Regions from separate parts of the Homo sapiens genome. Here regions 2 and 3 are each linked to region 1. The links are contacts of gene promoters, found by promoter capture Hi-C in human tissues and cell types (Jung and others, 2019). All regions are on one chromosome and are shown on one strand. The core of a region is centred on a gene start or on the middle of the fragment in contact, and the rest is flanking DNA. Distances in the headings are between cores, read along the strand shown. Region 1 holds the start of CBLN1 (cerebellin 1 precursor). Region 2 overlaps LOC105371240 (a long non-coding RNA gene). Region 3 overlaps LOC105371240 (a long non-coding RNA gene).

Region 1 (3,168 bases), core at 318-2,817:
GGGGAGGCCGGGAGGCCGGGCCAGAGGCTAGCCCAGAGGCAGAGGGCAGGAGCGCTCAGCCGGCGCCCCGCGTCTCTCCAGCTCCCGACGCTGCGCTGGCTCCGCTGAGCACGCCAGGATCAAGGTCGCCTGGTGGGGACCGGAGCGCCAGGAGCCTGTGGGAAGCGTTCCAGCCGGCCTCTGACTGGGATCCGGCGCCGCGTTTCTGCTTTGGACTTGACTGACAGGTCCCCCCGCCCTCCCGCCGCCCTACTACCAGCCTGGGTTCATCCTTCAGGGCTACGTCTACCGCACCCGGGCTGGAAAGCCTGGAGCGCGCCCTTCCTCTCCTCATCTTCTCAGCTCTCCTTTCTCCCTGCCACTTGGCAAAGCTGCATTTTGACTTTCACGTTTTGGACTACGTGTGTGTAGTTCCAAGTCCATGCGTGGCACGAAAATCCACTTAGGGTAAAAATTATTCTCGAAAAATCGCCCATCTCAGGATCTGGTGTCTACACTCAAGGCTAGGAGGTGCAGGTACGGGTGCGTAAAGCATGCCGTAAGGGTGCACAGTAAATAAAAAGTACGGATGCAAAATGTAAATTTTAAGTGCAAAACAGAAAAGCAGTACTCGTTGCCGCCCCGCACGCTGGGTTTTAAGGGGCACGAAGGTGGGCCTCGGCTGCTTTTGCTCAGCCCCGCGTCCTCAGCGCCCGGCCCAGTACCCGGTACTCCGTAGGGGTTCAATGATCTCCCCTGAATAAGTGAACGAATTAACAAATGAATGAATGACCGCTCGATCCGACCTCCGCGGCCGGCAGAGCAGTCGCTGGAGAGGCGGGAGAGAGCGAGAGGCCAAGCTCCACCATCGCGGCCGCCGGCTGGGGCAGAGGGACACGGAGACACTCGGCGCCCCGGCTCCGCACCGAGTCCCCGCGGTGAGTGCCCGCCCAGCAGCTCCCGGGCACCACGTGCGCCCGCCAGAGCCGCGCAGGCCCCGCCCCGCCGCGCGCGCACGCGCCCTGCACCCCGGCCGCCGGGACCCTGAGCCAGGCTCGCCCAGCGCGCCGGCTGCCCTCGCGCCCGCGCCCGCTGGGGGGCGCTCCCCTCCCAACGGGCGCGCCCACAGGCGGGCAGGCGACTCGCAGCCTCCAGCGATTCCACTCCCGACCCCGGGGCGCGCCGCCTCCTACCTGAGGGCCGACGAGTGGGGGCGGGCAGGAGGGCCGAGGGAGGCGGAACAGGATCGAGGCGCGAGGCGGGAGTCGAGAAAGCGAGCGGCCGAGGCGACTCTCAGTGCGCGGACGCGGGCGCGCGCCCGCGCTCCCTTCGTCGACTCACGGCGAGAGCCCAACCCTGCTGCCGCGCGCCACCCGCCTCGCCGCGCCTAATAACAACGGCGCCCGGGGTCAGGTGGCCGAGCGCGGACAGCGCCGCCATTGGCTCGGTGGGGAGCGCGGCGCGTCAGGATTGGCTGGGGGGCGTGGCCTCGGCCGGGGCGGGGGCAGGGCCTCGGAGGGAGGCGGGCCGGGAGGCGGCGGGGGCGGGGCCAGGCCGAGGTCCGCGCCTTTGTGCCCGGCGCGCGCTCTCCGCCCGCTCCGGCTGCAGCGCCGGCTGCATCAATAATTCAGAGCGGCGGCGGCGGCGGCAGCGGCGGGTGCGGGCAGGAGGCGGCGGCAGCAGCGGGACCGAGCAGCAGCGGCTATGCATCCAAGTGCGGCTGGGCAGCCGCGGCACCCCTGAGGCCCGGGAGGGGCTCCGGGAACACAGCGCGGAGGGGACGCTAGTCGCGGAGGGGACGCTAGTCCCGGAGTGCGAGGAAGAGGTGTAGTGTCCAGAGCGGCGGCGGCGGAGCTGCGCACGGAGCTGAGGAGGGGGCTTCGGAGCGGGACTGGGACGGGGGGGGCGGCTGGCGCGAGCAGCCCTGGGGGTGGGGGGCGGGGTGGGCGCCGGCGGCGCGATGCTGGGCGTCCTGGAGCTGCTGCTGCTGGGGGCTGCGTGGCTGGCGGGCCCGGCCCGCGGGCAGAATGAGACGGAGCCCATCGTGCTGGAGGGCAAGTGCCTGGTGGTGTGCGACTCCAACCCCACGTCCGACCCCACGGGCACTGCCCTGGGCATCTCTGTGCGCTCTGGCAGCGCCAAGGTGGCTTTCTCTGCCATCAGGAGCACCAACCACGAGCCGTCCGAGATGAGTAATCGCACCATGATCATCTACTTCGACCAGGTGAGTGTTCCTTCCTCCCGCGGCGTGCAGATTGGGCTGGTGAAGGAGGGATGGATGGAAGACCGATGCCCGGTCCTCTCCAAGGGCTCTGCGGAGGCGCGGGGACGACAGTCCGGGACCGATTCCTGCCCACTCCCCTTCGTTCCCGTCTCGTTATAGGTACTAGTGAACATTGGGAACAACTTTGATTCAGAACGCAGCACTTTCATCGCCCCGCGCAAAGGGATCTACAGTTTTAACTTCCACGTGGTAAAAGTCTACAACAGACAAACCATACAGGTCAGCCGACGCCTCGTGCCGGGCCCTGGCCCCGTAGGGGGGTTACTGGCCTCAGGGGTGCTCGGGCTGTCCGGAGGTGGTAGGCAGAAGTGGCGGCTGCATGTACTTCGGGCTGCTTGGAGGGACAGATAGCGGGGCCTCTCAGTTCTGTGGCTTCAACTGTCCTCTGCTTTCCCTGTCTCTGGCTCTTGGGATCCAGCCCCATCCCCCGAGAGACAGAATTTTCTGCTTCTGCCTTCCGGGCCTCTCCGAAGGGTTCCCTGGATTTCAGGGACTTCCTTGTAACGGCTGTTGTTAGCGCCCCAGACAGCTGCCGCTTGGGAAGCCTTCCCGGACTCCCCAGGAAGCACCGCGACAGTACACCCTACCCCTTGCCCCGGCTCAGAAGCCTGCGATGCGGCTTGCGTGCTTGTCTTCAGCACCACGGACGGGGCCCCCGTTTTCTCCCACTTGTCCCCAATCCCCACCCCGTGCGGACTGTGGGTTTTTGAGCTAGCAGCATTTAGCCCCGGAGGGTGAGGGGTAGAGAGAGGAGGGAGGGAGGGGGCGTAGTGCTACTCTCTCCCGGCTCCAGCCGTGTCCCAGCAATCACTCGCCGGCTCTCCGGGTCCCCAAAGATGTCCAGGTTTCCCTTGGGCGCCGAGAGAGGTGGGACGCACAGCTGGGGAGAGGGCGCGAGGCCCTTG
Region 2 (3,168 bases), core at 204-2,703, 610 kb after region 1:
CAAACCCTCCAAGTCACCAAAATAGAAAAGCAGGTAACAAAATTGTGTTTTGGGAAGACATCTCCTGCTCTGTTACGAAGATAGATTAGGGGAGGTGGGACTAGAGGAGTGAAAAACAAGAGGCTAGGAAGGATGAAGTTATGGGAAAAAAGAGGCCAAAAAAGGATGCCAGAGGAATGGGGAGAATCATGGCAGATGGGGAGAATCATGGCAGATGGGGAGAAGGGGACCTTTGAGATGCCAGGCATCTGTGTGAAATTAGGTTTTACTTTTGCCCATATTCCTAGAGTCCCCAAATCATTTAGCTTCCCTATATTCATCCTTTCCTTGCCATCCCCACAGATGCATCCAAGCTTAATCATTTTAAGCAAAGCACTACCTTTCCCAGCTGATAAAAATACTTACAACTCATCATGGTTGCTACTATCGCATAGTCTTTTATTGAATCTCTTCCCATTTGTTGGAAATTCAGAAAGCATCCAACTTCCTGCTTAGGCAGATCCTGCTAACTGGCATGAACCATAGGAGCACAGGAAAACTCCCTTCTGAGAAGAAAATTTCCAACACAGAAAAATACCTGTCCACTTTCCTAACCATTTCTCTGTGGACCTGGGTGGGTGAAACACATCGATTCTGCAGGGAAGAACTTTGAGAATAGAAGTCATATGTTAGGATGGTGGAGAAAAAAGTTAGAAGGGGTGGCTGCCTGATGGCTTTGTGAAGTCTGGATCAGTTACCTCCAATTAATTTACATGACAAAGAAACAAACTTCTATGTTATCAAAGAATTCTTAGGTTTCCAGTTCTGTGTGATTAAATCTAATTCTCACTGGTACTATGGGCTTGTCTTCTTCCTCCCCTCTTCCTCCCATCTTTATTGGGAAGGAAATAGAATATGTGCAGTAACCTTACAGCTCACACAGCTAATAGGCAGCAAAAAATCTTTAATCCACATATTTCTGACTCTGAGCTTGAGTTCTTTCCATGGCACCAAGACTTGTTCTGAATTCCATTTTGATAAGCATAGCATGGTATGCCTGGTAGGAATGTCAGCATAAAGTACCAAAAGCAGGGAAGGCTTCTGGGGTCAGTGAGTAGCTTCCCTGGAGCTATACTTTATTACAAAAACAGAGGGGGCTGTCTTGAACCAAATTCTTTCAAATATAAGTAAGAAAATCTCAGCTCAAACTAAACTAAGCAAAATGGAAATTAATTGGTTCAAAGTGTTCAGAGAAAGGTGGGGATTTGCTAGCTTTGTGCACAGATGGATCTAGGGATTTCCCAATATTTTTATTTTTCTATTTTATTCTTCTATCTCTACCCATTTGCTCTTCTTCACTCAATGGTTGATTTCATTCTCTCCCACAGCAGTCAGTCTTTCTCCATAAGGCAGAGGGAAATGATCTTTAATTGACCCAGATTCACATTCTCCCAGCTTAACATGCCAAGCCAGAGAACATGCATCTCTGTCTATGTCTGTATATTAGTGCTATTGAAGACTATGATTGACACTATCTACTCCTGGAATGACTGCTATGGCTGTGAAAGGAGGTACCAAGATTGTCTAGCTAGCATAGAATGGATAGCCCAGGAGGCTGAGGCTGCAGTAAGCCAAGATAATGCCACTGCACTCCAGCCTGGATGAAAGAGCAGGACACTATCTCAAAAATAAATAAATAATATTTTTCAATGTAAAACTAAAATTTAAGAAAAAAATTAATCAATGGAAACAGACCTAGAAATGACAAAACTTATGTAATTAACACACAAAGGCATTAAAAGAGCTTTTATAAATGTGTTCAAAATGCTTAACTAGTTAAAAGAAAAGCACAAGCGAAAGGAAAAGTGGAAGTTATTGTTTTAAATAGAAATATCAGAAATGAAAAACACAACAGCTCAAGAGAAACTTTCACTGGATAGGAATAACTAGATATTAGATATTATAAAAGAAAATATGTAATTGAAGAAGTAACTGTAGCAACTAGCCAAAATAAGGCACAAAACAAAATAAAAAACTATAAAAATGAACAGTCTCAATATCCTATGGAACAAAATCAAACAGTTTAATAATTGGAGTCCCAGAGAAAGAGGTATATAAAGAAGCATAAGAAAACTTTGAAAGAAATAATGCCAACTTTTTTTTTTACAAATTTGATGAAAATCAGAAAGACAGATCCAAGAAGTTCAACAAACCTCAAACAAAATAAATATAAAGCAAAGCACATCAAGCAACATCTTAATCAAATTCCTGAAAGCCAGAGGAAAAAAATAACTCATTGTTTACAGAGGAACAAAGATGAAAATGATTTCAGACCTCTCATCAGAAATCCAGAAAGGAGACAACATCTTTAAAATACTAACAGAAAAAAATAACTGTCAACTTAGGATTCTATATACAATAAAAATATATCTCAAAAATGAAGGCAGGCCCAGCGTGGTGGCTCACACCTGTAATCCCAGCACCTTGGAGGCCAAGGCGGACAGATCACTTGAGGTCAGGCATTCGAGACCAGCCTGGCCAACATGGTGAAACCCCCGTCTCTACTAAAAAATACAAAAATTAGCTGAGTGTGGTGGCAGGCATGTGTAATCCTAGCTACTCAGGAGTCTGAGGCAGGAGAATCGCTTGAACTCAGGAGGCAGAGGTTGTACTGAACCAACATCGTGCCACTGCATTCCAGCCTAGGTGACAGAGCAAGATTCCATCTAAAGAAAAAAAAAAGAAGGCAAACAAAAATATTTACAGAAAAGCAAAAGCTAAGATAATTCATCACTAGCATATCTATACTACAAAAAAATATTAAAGGGGTCACTTCCAAGATGGCTGAATAGGAAGAGCTCTGGTCTGCAGCTCCCAGCAAGGTCTATGCAGAAGATAGGTGATTTCTGCATTTCCAACTGAGGTACCTGGTTCATCTCACTGGGACTGGTTGGACAGTGGGAGCTGCCCACGAAAAGTGAACTAAAGCAGGGCAAGGTGATGCCTCACCCAAGACATGCAAGGGGTCGGGGGATTTCCCTTTCCTAGCCAAGGGAAGCCGTGACATAATGTATCTGGGAAAACAGTACACTCCCACCCACATACTGTGCTTTCCCCATGGTCTTAGCAACCAGCAGACCAGGAGATTCCCTCCCATGCCTGGTTCAGCAGGTCCCACATCCACAGAGC
Region 3 (3,168 bases), core at 328-2,827, 590 kb after region 1:
CACTGCCCACAGGCATTCCTACTGGATCCCAAGTCCCTGCTGGGATCATAGCCATTATGATGCTCACAGGCTTCCCTGCCTCTAGAGATGGGTGCTGCAGTTGAGCCCTTGTGGCTAGTGGATGACACACCTGCTTCCCCCCACCACCACCCTGACTATGAGCATCTTGAGAACAGGACCAGGTCTTAGCCTTCGCTGTGGCCCCAGCACCTCCCCCGGGGCCTGGTGCATAGTAGATGTTCAGTAAGTATTGGCTGGAGAGAGAGAGGGAGGAGAAGATGGAGGAATTGAGAAATGGAGGAATAGAGGGATAGGGAAATACATCAATCACCTGTCTCCAGTCAAGGACAGGCATTTAGCAGCTGTTCAGAAAATAACTGATTGATTTTAATAGGCAAATGATAGGTCTTAATAAAATTCTCATTGTTGCTGAGCACAGTTGGGCTAGATTTTGAATAACAGTTTCTGTAAGACATTGATTCAGAATACCCCAGACCCCGGACCACCTCCTCTGACATTTTTATCAAATCAAAGGACATTGTGCTATATAGTGCAAAAAGCACACAGCCTAGAACTCTGCCACTTATCTGGTTTGTGATCGTGGGTATATTTCCTTAAGCCTCTGTTTCCTCTTATTAAAGAGTAGGGGAATGCAGAGAATTGCAGTAGGAATAAAAGGAATACTTTTTTGAAAGCAATTTGGGGTGTTTGTTTATTTTGTTTGTTTTTTTTCAAATCAAAATGAATGTATTGAGTACCTGCTGTATGTTCTTTCTGAGTGCTGGAAAGAAAGATAAAAGACAGTCCCTGGCCCAGAGGACCCCACAGTCTAGCAGTGAAGACAGACCCAGGAATGGGGATGTGATGGTTAATTTTATGTGGCAACTTGCCTGGACCACAGCACCCAGATATTTGATGAAGCATTATTCTGGATATTCCTGCGATGGTGTTTGGGATAAGATTAACATTTAAATCAGTGGACTCTGAGTGAAGCAGACAGCCATGTGGGTGGGCTTCATCCACTCCGTTGAAGTCCTGAATAGAACAAAGACGGACTTCCGCTACATAAGAAGGAATTCTGCCAGCAGACAGCCTTTGGACTCAAATTGAAACTCTTCCCTGCTTCCCTGGGTCTCCAGCCTACCCATCAGATTTTAAGCTCACCAAGTTTCCACAGTCACATGAGTCAATTCTTTCAAGTAAACCTTTCTGTATACACACATCTTGTTTCTGTTTCTCTGGAGAACCCTGACTAACACAGAGGACAATAACACAATAGTGAGTTGGATGCTCTAAGAAGGATCCTTAAGAATCCAGTGTCACGGAAAACCAAGGAGCAGTGATTAGCTCCATCTAGAAGGGTGTAAAGGAAGGCTTAGGATACTGGAGCTGGGACCTGAAGGCCAAGTTCATATTAAAAGATGAGAAAAGGGTCAGGCGTGGTGGTTCACACCTGTAATCCCAGCACATTGGGAGGCCAAGGAGGGCGGATCACCTGGGGTCAGAAGTTCAAGACCAGCCTGGGGAACATAGTGAAATCTGGTCTCCACAAAAAAAAAAAAAAATAGCCAGGCATGGTGGCACATGCCTGTAATCCCAGCTACTTGGGAGGCTGAGGCAGGAGAATCATTTGAACCCGGGAGATAGAGGTCGGAGTGAGCCAAGATTGTGCCACTGCACTCCAGCCTGGGCGACAAGAGCAAGACTCCATTTCAATATATATATATGAAAAGATCTTCCAAGCATCATTCAACAGGATCATGCTCACTCCCTCCATTTCCTTAGTAGTTATATGAACTTTAATCAGATTCTCTTTCTCTTGAAAATTCTCTTCTCCAGGCTGTTCCAGCCTATTTTCTCGTTTGAGGACCTAGCTGTGTGACCTAGACAAATCCCCTAATGTCTGTGAGCCTCAGTTTACTCCTTGTTAAATGCCTATTCATGGAGTCCCGGAAGGCACTTTGCACATTTCCTATTCTGTATTGCACCTTATAATTCTGTATTATTTTTACAGTGTTCAGCAGGTTCATACCCTACGGAACATCAATGAGTTTCTTCTGACCTCTATCCAAGGAAGTAGGGAAACAGGTTTACCTTATAGCATGCACTATATAAATTAGCTGCAAAGAAAGACAAATATTTAACAAATTTAAATAATCAAATAATACTATATAAGATTGTGAACTCTTATATCCTAGAGTTTCATTACAAATGGAGACACTCCTGGGACTCTAGTGGCAAGGGGCAGGAGGAAAGAAGAGTTGGCATCTTGTGTTCCTCCAAGGACACAGTTGGATGCAGAGCCTCAATGTCTGAACCTGAAATTGGCCTCAGAGGGAGGACAGTTAGGCAGGCTGTTCTCTGAGATGGGAAAAGCATTAACTATGGAAGAATGGGGAGTCCTCTGCCCCACTCTCCCCACTATGCAAAAAAGCAAGAATTCATGAAGATGGCATCTGCTTGGCCACAGACCAGAATCATCCTGGGATACCTGGATGAGACAACCCTGCAGAAAGCCCCATGCAGTCATTACATCTGTAGAGCCCCATCACAGACTCCTGAGCGTCAGGGTGGTCCAATCAAGGGCATTAAATGGGAACTCCCCAGGGGCCTGATATAGGCCAGTCATTCAGGGGATAAACTTCTTTATCTGGGGCTCTTTACTTACCCCAGGACCTGCTGGGCCAAGGTTCTCTTTCAATAACCAGTTTTGTTGCTCAAGGATAAAGGGAGAATGCCCCATGGGCAGAAGAAACTAAATCCCTGAAGAATTCAATTGGCTGCTGCATCCACTGAGAAGATTAAAAATATACTGAGCACATACTGTTTCCCTCTTAGGAGGAGAAAGAAACTAACTAGACTACTCTAAGGATGTTCCTTAAGTCTCAGGCCAAATTAATGTCCAGACACACATTATTTGTGTGAATTGAAAAGATCTTATGTCTAGAGCCTCAAACTGGCAAACAAGAAAAACAAACCAAAAAGGAAAATGAAAAAGAGGGAAAGAAAAAAAAATAAGAGGGAAAGGCAAAGCATTCATAAAAGCATTCAGAACCCAAAGTGGTATCATGGCAAGATCAGGGGCCTTTTGAGTGTCTGAGACATGGGTTTGAATTTTAGTTCTACCCCCTTATTAGTTTTGTCATTTTATCTTTTCCTTTTTTCTCT

The links. The method cuts DNA at HindIII sites, captures the fragments that hold promoters and counts their contacts. A contact is called where the count stands out against the background at its distance.
Region 2: a contact is called between a fragment that was not itself captured here and the fragment with the promoter of CBLN1 in region 1, in 2 of the 25 tissues and cell types used here (dorsolateral prefrontal cortex and mesenchymal stem cells).
Region 3: a contact is called between a fragment that was not itself captured here and the fragment with the promoter of CBLN1 in region 1, in 1 of the 25 tissues and cell types used here (H1 embryonic stem cells).

What each region holds. Positions count from the first base shown.
Region 1 is chr16:49,280,237-49,283,404 of GRCh38, reverse strand. It overlaps CBLN1 (cerebellin 1 precursor), which reads left to right and starts at 1,567. Exons shown (of 3, transcript NM_004352.4): 1 at 1,567-2,203; 2 at 2,363-2,482. The coding sequence starts at 1,940. SYNAGE (synapse stability regulating cerebellar lncRNA) reads right to left here and starts at 1,343. Exons shown (of 4, transcript XR_933530.4): 1 at 1,173-1,343. RefSeq lists silencers at 914-1,013, 1,384-1,493 and an enhancer at 1,846-2,463. The HindIII fragment of the contact is 18,550 bases long and covers 1-3,168 here.
Region 2 is chr16:48,668,420-48,671,587 of GRCh38, reverse strand. The region is part of intron 1 of LOC105371240 (a long non-coding RNA gene); the gene reads right to left. Among named protein-coding and RNA genes, the nearest start is that of N4BP1, 60 kb to the right of the region's middle. The HindIII fragment of the contact is 5,921 bases long and covers 1-3,168 here.
Region 3 is chr16:48,688,419-48,691,586 of GRCh38, reverse strand. All of the region lies in intron 1 of LOC105371240 (a long non-coding RNA gene), which reads right to left. Among named protein-coding and RNA genes, the nearest start is that of N4BP1, 80 kb to the right of the region's middle. The HindIII fragment of the contact is 7,279 bases long and covers 1-3,168 here.